Regions from separate parts of the Homo sapiens genome. Here all the other regions are linked to region 1. The links are contacts of gene promoters, found by promoter capture Hi-C in human tissues and cell types (Jung and others, 2019). All regions are on one chromosome and are shown on one strand. The core of a region is centred on a gene start or on the middle of the fragment in contact, and the rest is flanking DNA. Distances in the headings are between cores, read along the strand shown. Region 1 holds the start of LMCD1 (LIM and cysteine rich domains 1). Region 2 overlaps LMCD1-AS1 (LMCD1 antisense RNA 1). Region 3 overlaps LMCD1 (LIM and cysteine rich domains 1). Region 4 overlaps LMCD1-AS1 (LMCD1 antisense RNA 1).

Region 1 (3,587 bases), core at 669-3,168:
CGAGGTGGGAGACTCACTTGAACCTGGGAGGCAGAGGTCACAGTGAGCCGAGATCGCGCCACTGCATTCCAGCCTGGGCAACAGCGCGAGACTCTGTCTCAAAAAAAAAAAAAAAAAAAAAAGAAAAGCTAAAAGTGATTTGACATGTTCCCAGTACAAAGAAATTATAAATGTTCAAGGTGATGGAAATCCTAAACACCCTGATTTGATCATTACACATTGTAAGCATATATCAAAATACCACATGTACAATCATGATGTATCAATAAAAAAAATAAAAGCCAGAACCCAACCTCTATTCATTTGCCAAATGTGTACTGTGCCTATACCACATGCTAGGTGTTTGAGGACATAGCTGGGAGCAAACAAGGCAAAAATCAATTATAGCAGAAATCTGTGAAAAAAGAAATAGGTCATCCCTCATCTTGGAAAAGATAAGCCACAAAAAGCCCTTTCCAGGAATATGTAATAAAAAGTCACAATTCAGGATCCCTGGCTGAGATTTGGGATGACTGGAGATGATGATAAGAACTAAATTGGAGGAGGCTTTCAAGAGGAAAAAGCCTCCAGCAAGAGACAGCCCCACAGTGGGAACTGCAGCCTCCCCTTCTCACCAAATCCCTCCCGAATGGTGTACTTCGGGACCACTCTTCAGTCTCTGTGCAACCGAGTTTTATTTTAGCCCACGGGACCCTGGTTTTTCTGGCAGGGGGCACTGCAAAGACGGGTTACAGGCCGAACACCTCACAACAGAGACAGCAGTATTCTCTCTAGGATAAAAAGGGCTTGTGTTTAATCCTCTGTCAGGGCAGGGGGGAAATGCCTCTGGAATCCAAGTCTGTGGAACCGGCTCAGCAGAGAGATGTGGCTTTATAGGCAAACAACGTGGCATAGAGAGAGGAACCTGGCCAATTCTGTCTTATAAGAGTAGTTATGTTATGCGTTGCAAGGACTCCACATTCCATGGATTTGTGAACTCAGATGGAATCTTGTTTGTCCAGGCCTGCATGACCCCATTTATCTAAAAATTACTAACTTCCTAGTTTATAGTTTACAATCCTGTGCCCGCCGCCTCCCTCCCCCCCCCCGCCACGCCCCCATGAGCTTTCTCTCTATTACTCTCAGTCTCTCAGGTTAAAGCCTTGCTCAGTAATTCAGCTGTGGACCAGTTATTCTGATTATTTCCTCATCTATCGTCTTACAGTCATAATAATAATAATATCTGAGATAATATGAGCATACAACAAGACAGTATGTCCACAGGAGCATCTCTAAGATCAGGACAGTGATTTCTTGCTCATGGAATAAGAAGGATTTATGTTAAAGCAAGTTATAAGAAAGCAGTTTAATACTTTACGAACGTTAAGTTTAAAAAAATCATAACTCGCTGGAATCTTTTCTCCTCTCTGGATATTGGAGAACTCGCCCAGGTTTGGGAAACGTTAGCCAGCTCCTGCAAAACACCTCCTCCCTCAGCCCTCCCCGCGCCCCCTACGACCAGGCAGAAAGGGTGGGAAGGGGAGCACAGCTCAGCATTTATTTCTGGATCCAGCTCACTAAAAATACCTCGGCTCTCCTGTTTGATCACTCTCCCTTTTGACCTGAATGGATCGCGGGAGCCGCGCCGCCCGCCCCACCTTCGGCCCGTTGCCCTTTAAAGGAAAAGGGCGTGGGGACGGATTCCTGCCGCTCGAGGGATAGAAGGGAGCTGGGTAGTCAGGGGCCGCGGCCATGCTGACGTCAGGGCAGCCGGCGCTCAGCTCCGCTCGCTGCCACAGTGCAGAGACCTCCCTGAGGGAGGGGGACAGCCTCGCGCTGGGATTGGCTGGCCTCGCGCGAGCGCCGGCGCGGAGTGGCTGGCGAGGTTTTAGAGGGAGTCCCGCTCTCCAATTAAAGCGGCCCAGCTGCGCCTGGCTGCGCACAGAGCTCCCTCCCAGGCCCGCGAACTTGGCCATTCAGCCGCCGCTGTCCCCGCTGCGCGCCCTCGCGCCTCTGCCTGAGAAGCCAGGCGCTGTTCCCCCACCCCAGAAGAGGATGGCAAAGGTGGCTAAGGACCTCAACCCAGGAGTTAAAAAGGTGAGTGGAAAGCTGTTTGTATTTACCCAGATTCTTACTTTTTCTTGTTCCCCTTCCCATCTGTTCGCGGAAACTTCCCAAAAGGTAATGAGAAGGGAACTCTTTAAATTCCAAAACTGCATGGAAAACAAATAGTTGGGAATACATGTTTGAGCTAACAGGCACACACACCCCAAACCCAATGTTGTGTAAAATATTTGCAAAGGGTCTTATGTCTTTGGTGATGCTAGTTAAAGTTTAATTAAGGTTTTACATATATATACAATATATATAAAATGTATATAAAATATATATATAAAATATATATAATATATATTATATATAATATATAAAATATATATTATATATAATATATATTATATATAAAATATATAATATATATTATATAAAATATATATAATATATATTATATATAAAATATATATAATATATAATATATATATATGAAATCTTATGGTCTGTAAAGGAAAAACCCCTAGCTTCCTCACTCCCTGTCCTCAGGTGGCTGAAGTAAGGGTTGAGAGCATGTAATATTTACTCACAGTCTCCCTTTTGCTATTATCCCAGTGTTTTGTGTGTTTCCCCCAATACACACACACACACACACACACACACACACACACACACGCACGCAGTTTCTTTAGTTGGTGATGTTGGCAGTGGCAGCAGTTCCAGCATAAGGGAACTGATTTCTGTCCCCAGGGTCTGCACGTTTCCCTTACAAGAAGGGCTGGCCCGGAGCCCAGAAGGTCATGGGTAAACTCCTGCACAGGAGCCTGCGGCTGTGCCTATAGCTCCAATACCACTTGTTGCCTACCTGAATGCAGCTGGGAGAAGGCACAGGCTGGAGACTTAGAGAACATGTGAACGGGAAGGGAACAGAGAGACAACCTAGGCTTTACAGATCGGGAAACTGAGGCCCGGGGTCACAGAGAGTTGGTTCTAACAGGCAGCTGACTGTAAGGCAAGCCCTAGGCATCCAGACTCAGTCCCTGCCACTTTTTAACTGCACATGATTCACCAGGTCACTTTTCTGAGCCTCAGTTTCCTTGTCTCTGATGTGGGGAGGATAGGCCTAACCTCCCTCATGGCAGTGGTAGCAGGGATACTGACACTGTGAGTTAATTTCCCAAAGCAGTCATTGTTAAACTCTGATTTCACAGGGTTTAGTCTTGAAGGGCAAAGTCTTCCTTAAATATCTGCCATTAACCTGCAGGGTAGAATGAGAGGGGGAAAAACAAAAGACGTGAGAATCAAACTAAAGACACAAACAGCCACTCAGAGGCACAGCATGCACTGTCTAATTTGTAGCTGTGCTCTTCTGTAGACCACCTGCCCAGACCCTGTCACAGAGTCCAGTGGATCCTTCTAAATGTGGGTACCAAGTCACATTGAATCTGGGCATTTGTCTGGAATGTATCATGCCTCACTGCATTTGCCAAGCTATTTGCAGAATCAAGTCATTTCCCCTCCTACAGAAATTACCATAACATTTTAGACTCTTAGAAGAT
Region 2 (3,587 bases), core at 545-3,044, 57 kb before region 1:
TCCATTATTCTAATATAATTACTCCTTGATTTTACAGCAGCAAATTATAATAGCCAGTAGTGGAGAACAGTAACCTGGATTGCCAGAAACAGCAGAAGGTTTTGGTTTGGGTTTGTTTTTTCACTTTTGACGTTTATTGTATAGGTTGCACTTCATTTGGGGGAGTCCGAGGGGGAGTGTTTTGTGTGGTTTTAAATCAACCTATTTAGCTTCTCAATGTCATTGGGCATTGGATAAAGATCTGAGTGTATATGTTGTCTGATACAGAAAGTGAGTGAGAATGTAGGTAGAAAAAAGAAAAACAGCACATGAAGAGATGTAGAAAGCTCAGCTAAGCTCAAACTCTCCCAGTGAAACACCAAAAGTACAGGGACAACAGTAGTTTGGAATGAAGCATTGCTCCTCATACAGCAGAAGAGAAACTGGAACATCCTAACATCAGCACCAAAGCAGTTTTCCATGTCCTCATTCCCTCATTCATGCATTCATTCAAATATTTACCAGGAGCCACAAACGTGACCAAAACATGCCCTTGCCTTTACAACTGCTCCCTGTGGTAGAGGAGACCTCTAAGCGAATAATCAGAATACAACACACTTAGTGTTATATCTGAGATACACACAAGGTGCTACTGGACAGATAAAACAGGGAAGGAAAAAGAAGACGTTAAACATGGGTTTAAAAGATGAATAGAAGTTCAAGTACAGAAGGGCAGCCAGGCAACAGGAATGAGAAGTGCAAGAGCACAGCATGGAGCAAAAGGGCAGGAGAAGGTCACAGGATGGCAAAAGTTTTCATGCATGTGAGGGACTGGGAAACTTGTAGGGTTTGGGAAGGTGGAGCAGGAAGAGGCAGGAAGGGTAGGCAGGGGCTAGATACAGAGCCACAGGCCCCTGAGCACTTGCGATGTGCTGGTCTGAACTGAGATGTGCTGTGGGTGTAAAATACACACCGATTTTGAAGACTCAGTGGGAGCAAATAAAGTAAAATACCTCATTAATATTTTTACATTGTTTGGCTGTTGAAATGATAATATTTGGGTTATACTGAGCTAAATAAAATATATTATTAAAATTAACTTCACTCATTTGTTTTGACTTTGTTAGTGTGGCTGCTAGAAAATTTAAGATGACATATATGGCTTACAATCACCTCCACTGGGCAGTGCTGGGCTCATTCAAGCATGAGAACATCGGATTCCATCATAGGGGTCTTGGGGCTCATCTGGTAGCAACAGGGAGTCACCAGAAATTCCAGAGCAAAGGAGCAATTCAGTCCGCTGAAGGTTTAGGAACACCTTCAGTGGCTTCAGGTTGGTGGGGTAAAGCAGTGGTCGGGGAAGGCACTCTGGGGGACATTAAGCTTCCTAAGTCAGGAATGTTTAGGTCTGAATAAAGCAGAGAAGGAAAATGTGGGAGAGCTATTTAAGAGAAGAGAAAATAATTGACAAATCAAAATCAGATTATTACACTACAAAACCATCACAGGATTCAATTACAGTCCTTTGTGGGGAAATGCCTCCTCCTCCATCCCCCCCACGTCCCCAACTCCCACCAGATCACATAGTGTAACCTTCCTGGCTGATGTAACACACAAAGCTGAAAAGATAGTTTTCAGGACACAGGAAAAGCAAGTGGCAATGCTTAAGAGAAGAACTTACTCCTCTTTCCTTGTTAAGGATCCAGGAGGCAAACCTAACCCCGCTGGGCCCCAGACAGCAATTCCTAACAGTGTGCTCTTTTATACCTTCCTTCAAGGCTGCTGACAGGAAAGGCCGTTGCCAAGGAAACAGGCTGAGCCAGGAAGCTGACTGGAGCAAACACAGACAGTCTCACGGCCGCTCTGTGGACAGAGCGGACCAGTTGGTAAATATTTCACCAGGCACATACCAGAGACGCAAAGCAAACAGTATGTCATCCCAGCGCTGGGCTGGAATCGTTCCACGAGGAAATGTTGAACTCAGAAGCTGTGCAGCTTCGTTCCCATGTTACAAAGGATGACCTCCCAATATGACAGGGCTTACAGTGGGGCATTGGGACACTTTGCTAGAGTGGGATTATAGCACTCTATATGTGCGAGTTCCACATCTGCGGATTCAACCAAATGAAAAATATTCTCCAAAAAATGTACAAATAATACGAATTGTAAAGTACATTAAATAAATAAAATATAAACTAACTACGTAGCATTTACATTGTATTAGGTATTATAAGTAATCTAAAGTACATAGGTTACAGGCAAATATGCTATTTTACATAAAGGACTTGAGCAGGAGCAGTTTTTGGTATCCGCAATGGCCCTGGAACCAATCCCCTTTGACTGTACTGAGCATCTCCCAGCACAGAGGCTATCAGTGCTGGTGGCAAAAGAGATGTCAAGGTACTCTGGAGAAAAGTAGAAAATCAGTGGGCAAGCTACTTCTCCTTCATGGCAGCCTCAATTTTGCTTACCTTTAAAATGGGTATAATCTTTTAAAGATTATGTAATAGGATGAGCATTCAATGGAATAAAATAGTTTAATAAATAAGATAAATGTGTAGTCGCCTCAATAAATGTTAGTTTCACTTTCCGCTCCAGTGTGTAACATCTAGAATTAAAGATATTCTGTGTACAGTTTGAATGCCAACTATTTAGATACAACACTTCTATTAAGTAAGCCTAAGTCTGTCTTAGCTTCCTCAGTATATAACACTGAATACAACCACAGAGGGATTCTTTTTGCTTTGTATCTTTTACGTGAATGGCAGGTAAGTCACATCTCCTGGATTTTTTACTGATGTAATTGATGATCTGGGCTCAAGTCCTGAACATGCAAACCATTCCAGTGAATTCCATTTTATTAGATTGAAGCCATAGCTCTAGCCTAGCAAGATCACTTGAAAGCTGTCCTCTGTCCTCAGGGAGCTTCATGTCTGGGGCAGTGGTTTTTAAAACGTGGTCTCTTGACCTCAGAATTAACTGAGGTGATTGGTTAAAAAGGTGAGTTTTCAGTCTTCATCTTAGACCTATTGAATCAGAACATCTGGAGGCAGGTCCCAGAAACTTGCAATTTTAGCAAACTTTCCAGTTTACACTCATGCACAATAAAGTTTGAAAAATCAATTTTCTTCATTATTTCTGCATTTTAGAAATTGGTCCTTGGACCACCTGCATTTGATGCCTGTTGAAATGCAGGTTTCTGAACATCATCCACATGTAAGGAATCATAGTCTCTGGACTCAAGAACCTGCCTGTGTAACAAACTCTCCAGTTGATTCTTACTCACACTAAAAGCTGAGAACCAATGGCCTAGTGAATCGTAAAGAAATACTCCTCAAACTTGGCATTGGTGTGCATAGGAAGTGCCTGGAGAGCTTGTTAAAGCAGAGATCGCTGAGCCCACCTCCAGAAAATCTGACTCACTAGGTTTGGGGAGGGATCCAAGAACTTATATTTCTAACAAGCTCCCAGCTGATGGAAATGCTGCTGATCCACAGATCACACTATGGGCAGTTGTGGTGTTAAACTCATAATAGTCTATATAGTTTTAAAAATACACCCATATCTAAAGAATCTATACAAATCCTATTGAAACAAAAATGGCCATG
Region 3 (3,587 bases), core at 695-3,194, 45 kb after region 1:
TTCCCAGAATTTATTTACTATGAATCCCAGCAGGTACCAAGCCCTAGACTTGTACTCCCCCACCCCACAACAACCCTAGCTTCCTCACCACTGCTCCCTAAAATCAGACAGCAACAGGGTCTGTACAATATGCATTTCAGCATGAATTTCCATGTTCACTCCCACAGTTCCCAAATGAGTCCAGCCCCAAGCGATAAGCTATGGGCCAGATGGGTTCTAGGAGGATGAACCTAGCAGCAGCCACCTCAGTGATAGGAATCAGGAGACTGGGTACTAAGGTTCAGAGTCAGGGTCAGGCACAGAAATGGAAAATGGTTGTCCAGGATGAGCAATTTGCCTCTCACGGTTTCTCAGGCCGTGGTCCTGACCTGTATCTTCCCCTAATCTCCCCGTCCCTGGGACTCACCCATGCATAAGAATTACGTTCAATAAAAACAAATATATAAATGAGGCCAAATTGGACAGTTACTTGTGAACACATTAATATTCAGACAGTTACCAGTCATATTAATGGGGAAATGTTACTGACCTGAGACCTTGTCGATTCTACTATTAGAAGTTGACTTTGCATATTTTTTAATTAATAAACCATGAAATACCTTATGTCCATAATGATTTAATTATACTTTTCTAAGAAAAAGCGATTTTAGACAAGGTTGACTTTTTTTTTAATTAGGAATGTTGCCCAGGAGGTAAATGAAATAAAAATATTCAGTTTTGAGAGAAACAAAATTCATGTTGCAAAGCCAGCAAATCTAAAATGATCATCTACTTAAATTACACCATTCTGATCAAGAATGTGAATCTCTGACTATAACTTGGAGCAGAGTAAGAGCTCATTTAGGCATCTCTCAGGTATTAGCAAAATTCATATTTCTTCCTTGAGAATTCTTACATTTTGCAAAAGCCTGAAGCAGCTAGGAATCGTCCTCTGGCCTTTCCTCAGATCTCTGTCCAGTGCTCGAGAATCCCAGTTGTTTATCTCACTAATTTTTTTGTTTGCCAGTATTTTATTGAAACAGTAGTGCAAGTAAAGTCCAGGAGCCAACTTCTTGCATCAGATTTACCAGGATTCTTGTTAAAAATGCAGATTCCTGTACCCCACACCTCACCTACTGGATGGAGATCTTGACTGGGGCTTGGTGCCTGGGAATCTGCATGTTAGTAATTTTTCGCAGGGTTATTGTACACTGTGTCCATTGAGAGACACTACTTTGACATATGTAGCTGGTGAGTCTAACTGTAATCAGAGATTTGAAAAGAGAAAAGCCACAGATAGAAAAGCAAACAGGGTCAGGTGCGGTGGCTCACACCTGTAATCCCAGCATTTTGGGAGGCCGAGGTTGGTGGAGGTCAGAAGTTCAAGACCAACCTGCCAACATGGCGAAACCCCGTCTCTACTAAAAATACAAAAATTAGCCGGGTGTAATGGCTCACGCCTATAATCCCAGCCACTCCGGATTCTCCTGCTGAGGCAGGAGAATCGCTTGAAGCTGGGAGGCAGAGATTGCAGTGAGCTAAGATCAGGCCATTGCACTCCAGCCTGGGTGACAGAGCGAGACTCTGTCTCAAAAAAACAAAACAAAACAAAAAAAAAGAGAAAGTCAGTAGCATGTAGATCAGGAGTGTCCAATCTTTTGGCTCCTCTGGAAGAAGAATTGTCTTGGGCCACACATAAAATACACCATCACCTAACGATAGCTGATGAGCTTAAAAAAAATCACAGAAAAATATCATAATGTTTTAAGAATGTTTATGAATTTTTTACAAATTTCTGTTGGGCCACATTCAAAGCTGTCCTGGGCCATATGTGGCCCATGGGCTGTGGTTGGAGCAGCTTGGTAGGCGCTGTGGTTCTTTTAAGTAATCCTATAGCCACCCTAGGGTTTACGATCCTCCTTTTTACAGCTGAAGAACCTGTGCAAAGAGACGGCATGACATGGCCACAGTCACACCGCCGGCATGCCTACAACCAGGATTTCAGTTCAGGACAAGCCGATTCCAGAGCCTTTGCTCTTGCTACTATGGTAGAAGGGACATGGCCTGCCCTCAGGGATTGAACTGTCCCGCTAGAGGGTCAGCTCAAATACACTAGGAATGGTTAAGGACTAGGGAGAGACCAAAGCATACAGTGCTGCTTGTAAGAACAGGAAAGAAGAGAGAGGGCTTTTCCTTCCAGGGGCAGGGGGAGGTGTAAGTCCATGAGTGAAGGTAGAAATCAAGCCTATCAATTGTGGGGCCAGTGAGAAGAGAGCGCCGAGTGGGACACAGGTTTTGTGAGGGCAGCCAGCTGGCATAACTTTTGTCATTATACTGTTAAGAGTTTTATCAACTGGCTACCGTCTAGCAAATGATACTAAAGAAGAGGTTTAAAAGCAGCAACTTTTCTTTGGTGATAGAGGCAAACTAGTAAATGTAATTATTACCATTAATTGAAAGTCAGAGAACAGAGCAAAATGAGCTTTATTCAAATTCTGATGGAAAACCTAGCCCATGAGTAAATGTAGACTCCTTTTTCTTTCCACTGCCATCCAAAATTGAAAACTACAGTGTTCCTTGGAGAATAAGCAATAAAATAATGATTATTATTAGCAAGTAGACAGCTAGCTACTTAACCAACAGATAGAGCACACAATAGCAGATGCAAACAAGTGTCTCTTTCTCACACGCAAGATTGTTCCCTGTCCCACACCATGACATGGGCTGGCCCAGTCACAGGAGAAACAGAACCCACTGACCAAGGACTCATGTTAAATGGTACACACGCACAGAAAATAGCATTTAAATACATTAAGTACAACCCTACTTGTTATTTGTTCCAGGCAGAAAGAAGACTGGGTGCCCTTATTTAATAAATATACTATTGTCTGGAACGATAAACACAAAGTTGTTGGCAAGCTGTTACCATGAGCCAATAAGGTGTAAGTTTTTAAAATCCTTTTTAAAACAAAGGACAGTCATACACCACTTAATGCTGGGGTTTCGTTCTGAGAAATGTGTCCTCAGGTGATGTTGTCTTTGTGTGAATGTCAAAGAATGCACTTACACAGCCAGGCGCGGTGGCTCATGCCTGTAATCCCAGCACTTTGGGAGACCGAGGCGGGTGCATCACTAGGTCAGGAGATCAAGACCATCCCGGCTAACACGGTGAAACCCTGTCTGTACTAAAAATACAAAAAAATTAGCAGTGGCGGGCACCTGTAGTCCCAGCTACTCGGGAGGCTGAGGCAGGAGAATGGCGTGAACCCGGGAGGCAGAGCTTGCAGTGAGCCGAGATCACACCACCGCACTCCAGCCTGGGCAACAGAGCGAGACTCCATCTCAAAAAAAAAAGAAAAGAATGCACTTACACAAACCTAGATGGTGTAGCCTGCTACGCATCTAGGCTACGCAGTATAGCCTATTGCTCCTAGGCCACAAATTGTACAGCATGTGACTGTACTGAATACTATAGGCAATTGTAACACAATGGTCAGTCAGTATTTGTGTATATAAACATATCTAAACCTAGAAAAGGTATAGTGAAAATAGAGTATGATAATCTTATGGGACCACTATGGTATATGTGGCCCATCGTGGACTGAAAT
Region 4 (3,587 bases), core at 399-2,898, 40 kb before region 1:
TCTCTACCCCTTTTCCTTGACTTGCAGCTATCCAGAAAAAGCAAACCCACGTGGCTTGTGTCACAAGCAAAAATTTAAGAAGAAATATCATCCATGAGAAAATAATCACACCCCACGTTCCCACACCAAACCGAATTGTTTTCAGTCGAGTTCTAGTCTGTGCACTTTGCCCTTCTAACCAATGTTTATTAATATGAGGAATCAAGAGGTTACTAGGAGCAATCGCTCAAAACTGGCAGGAAACTAACATTTGGTTGGTATCTGTGTCTCTCTCTGGAATGGGTGCGTCTTCACGTTCCCTTCTCATGCTGAGGTTTGTTTTCCCCACATGTTGTTCAGAAAACACAAGACTTAATGCCCTAGCTTTTTGCTGCCTAAAACGGACAACCCTTCCCTTCTTCAGCCTCAGGGACTGTGTCAACTTTAAGGTCATGACCACAGGGCCACAGGGGAGCCAATCATGATAACAAAATATTATTTGCCTCCCTGGTTTCTGGTGCATTCAACAGGAGCCCTCAGCTCCGAGTCCCAAGACTCTACAAATTCCTGTTCCAACCCAAAACTTCACCACTCTCTAGGGCACTAATCATTTTATCAGAAACCTACGGTGGCTCCAGCATCTCATTCCAAGTTCTGACTATGCTTTATTTTTTTCCCAATATTATGAATGTTTAAAAACATGTTTTTATTGGAAAGATCTGTATGTCCTCATTAATCTTTTGGATCTCACTGGAGCCCCTTAACATGCCCCTTAAAATATCCATTAAAAAGTCAACCACAACTGTTTAAATAATTTTAATGCATACATTTAAAAAGAGGGCAATGAGATATGCACATCATTTAAAGATGGTGGTGGACGTTGGAAAGGGAAGTCGGTGATGGGCATGAGGTCACAGACTCGCCATTAGGGATCATTCTTCATTCAGCAAATTGTCATTTACTTGGAATATCTCCCTCATTCCATGGATTTTAGGCATACTTTCTTTTCAGTGGGAAAATGGAAGGAATAGATCATTGGGACCTTTCATTTTTCTCATTCCTATCATCTAAACACAAAGAAAGTGCCCTGTTTAGAAAATGCTGCTAAGTTGTGGCAGCCCAGGGATATTTCAAGCTTGCATTCTGGCCATTTCTCTCTGTTTTATATGGCTTCCTGCTCTCACATCCAATGAAAATAGCTCTTTCCATGGCAACACCACATAGAGATATCATGGCAAGACTGTGTTGTGGTTGCTATTTTTTTAAGCAATACTATTTATCTTGAAACTGCACCAATTTCTCCCCCTTTTTCTCTCATTCCACAATCACACCAGTGTTGGCAGTTCCTCTTGAGGGCATGTGAGGACACTTAGTCACCTTTACCAAAGGACTGTAGTTCTACTTCTTTAGTCCACCATACAACATTAGTTCTGTATGCTTGTCAAGTTTTTAACTTTGGGTGCTCAAGTTGAAGTTCTTGGTTTGATGTTCAAAGCCATTCACAATAGTCTTGACTGCTTCCATATTTTCATATACTAACACTGCCTGTATTATAACAATACTGAGCTGTTTAGCCTGTGACTCAAAGATACCTGGACCTTGTTGGCCAGGTTACCATTGCATTACAGTCAAATTTAATGTATCACCTTATTCCAAACACACACATGCTAACACACACAAACACACAAATACATAGACACACAAATCTATTCCCTATAGCATTTGGACAATGAAGTAAAATTTTGCTGAAGGTCTATGGAGAAGACTGAGGATGGGAATTGTACTATACATCCTTAGCCAAATGTGCCTTCAAAGTGCCTTTTATAACATTTCTTCAAAGTTCCTTTCCCTTTAATAATTGTTAAATGTATCTCTACCCCCAGCCCCTTTATCTCAAAACTGCTCTCCAGTTGAAGTTAACTCTTTCTCCCCACCTCTCCTCCAGTTCAAACATCCCACTGAACAAAATGAGAGCCAGGTCACCAGCTGAGAGGTTTCAGTGAAACCAGATCATTAGGTTGGCCTAATCATTCAGCAAAGATCATTAGGTTTGCCAATCAATCAATGATGGCTTGAATGAGTCCCAGGCTGGGGAGAGATGGGCATTCATGTCCACTTCATCCCATCATGTGAAATTTACAAATGTACTAGGCAGCTCTGGCTCCGTGAGTGCACATGCTGTTCTCTCTTCCTAGAATGCCCTTCCCTCATTGCTTATCTGATGAGACCTTTCAGGTTTTAAGATCCAGCTCAAGGATCAACACTTCTGAGAAATCTTGGGGATTTCAGACATGTTTCCTCATCCAAAGAAAAATATAAAAGTCCCGAGCTGGCCACTCTGACGTAGCACTGTTCATGACCCCTGGGTGTTTTACTTATTGACCATGTCTTTGCCTCACTTCTCCTTACCTTAAAAGGAAGGTCTTCTCATCTGAATCTCCAGAACCCAGCCCAGCACTGAGTATATACATATTGTATAACCAGTAAATGTTTGTCAGATGGAATTTTATTCTTACCACACATCCAGGAGTTAGGTGAAGCAGGTGTTATATAACAGGTATTGCTAGGCAAATTCTTTTTCCTTTCTGAGACACAGGTTATATTGTACGAATGCCCTAAGCACTATACATGCATTAATTCACTCAATTCATCACAAGAACCCTATGAAGTAAATGCTATTATCATCCTCATTTTACAGATGAGAAGGTTAGATTTCCCTTTGGTAAATTTTATTGTAGTTCAAAATACTTTTCACCCATCCTGGGGTGTCCCTACCTATAAGAGGATTGTATACCCAGGCATGGCTATGTGATTAGATTTGTACTAGGAAATCTAAAAAGGGATGTGTGTCATCCCCAAAGATTTAAGAACCAGCATGTGGTTGCCCTACTTCTTTCTCCTTTACCCTCTTAGATGCCTCTACTCCATCATCATGGATGCCAGAGTAAAAATGATATGGAAAAGAGGTACAACTGATCCATGTGGCCATAGAGCACAAGAAAGAAATAAACCTTTGTTTCTGTAAGCCACTGAGCTCTGGGCGTCATTTGTTATCTCAGCATAATCTAGCCTAAGCTGACTTATGAACTCCACAAATCTGGTCTTTTTTCAGTGTCCCCAGTGTCAATGAACGGATTAACATCCATTTATTCACACAAGTGATGAATCTGGAATTCATCTCTGGTGCCTCTTCTCCCTTCTCTAAAGGAAAAAAATACATATATCCAAGCCCTGTCAATGAAGCCTCCTAAATCTCCCTGGAATTGAATGTCTCCACTTCTCTCTTCAATACCTCCATCCTAGGCCAAGTCACCATCATCTCTCCCCTTGACTGTTGAAATGACATACCTGAACTCCCGAGCCCCATACTTCACCCACTTTTTTTGCTGCCCATACTATCCTCCACAGAAACTCTATTATAACAACAACATTGATAATGTTATTATGGTGTTTAGAAACATTTTGTGCTTTCTCATTGTTCTCATGCGCTGACAAGACCCTCCGGAACTGAGCCTACCTCTCCAATCTCTCTCTCTCTCTCTTTTTTTTGAGACAAAATCTCACTCTGTCACCCAGGCTGGGGTGCAGTGGTACGATCTCGGCTCACT

The links. The method cuts DNA at HindIII sites, captures the fragments that hold promoters and counts their contacts. A contact is called where the count stands out against the background at its distance.
Region 2: a fragment that was not itself captured here is called in contact with the fragment with the promoter of LMCD1 in region 1 in 2 of the 25 tissues and cell types used here (hippocampus and thymus).
Region 3: a contact is called between a fragment that was not itself captured here and the fragment with the promoter of LMCD1 in region 1, in 1 of the 25 tissues and cell types used here (hippocampus).
Region 4: a fragment that was not itself captured here is called in contact with the fragment with the promoter of LMCD1 in region 1 in 1 of the 25 tissues and cell types used here (aorta).

The regions. Positions count from the first base shown.
Region 1 is chr3:8,499,905-8,503,491 of GRCh38, forward strand. It overlaps LMCD1 (LIM and cysteine rich domains 1), which reads left to right and starts at 1,919. Exons shown (of 6, transcript NM_014583.4): 1 at 1,919-2,076. The coding sequence starts at 2,035. LMCD1-AS1 (LMCD1 antisense RNA 1) reads right to left here and starts at 1,754. Exons shown (of 4, transcript NR_033378.1): 1 at 1,567-1,754. RefSeq lists an enhancer at 1-440. The HindIII fragment of the contact is 11,258 bases long and covers 1-3,587 here.
Region 2 is chr3:8,442,701-8,446,287 of GRCh38, forward strand. The region is part of intron 3 of LMCD1-AS1 (LMCD1 antisense RNA 1); the gene reads right to left. Among named protein-coding and RNA genes, the nearest start is that of LMCD1-AS1, 57 kb to the right of the region's middle. The HindIII fragment of the contact is 7,646 bases long and covers 1-3,587 here.
Region 3 is chr3:8,544,563-8,548,149 of GRCh38, forward strand. All of the region lies in intron 3 of LMCD1 (LIM and cysteine rich domains 1), which reads left to right. Among named protein-coding and RNA genes, the nearest start is that of LINC00312, 25 kb to the right of the region's middle. The HindIII fragment of the contact is 8,356 bases long and covers 1-3,587 here.
Region 4 is chr3:8,460,068-8,463,654 of GRCh38, forward strand. The region is part of intron 3 of LMCD1-AS1 (LMCD1 antisense RNA 1); the gene reads right to left. Among named protein-coding and RNA genes, the nearest start is that of LMCD1-AS1, 40 kb to the right of the region's middle. The HindIII fragment of the contact is 6,278 bases long and covers 1-3,587 here.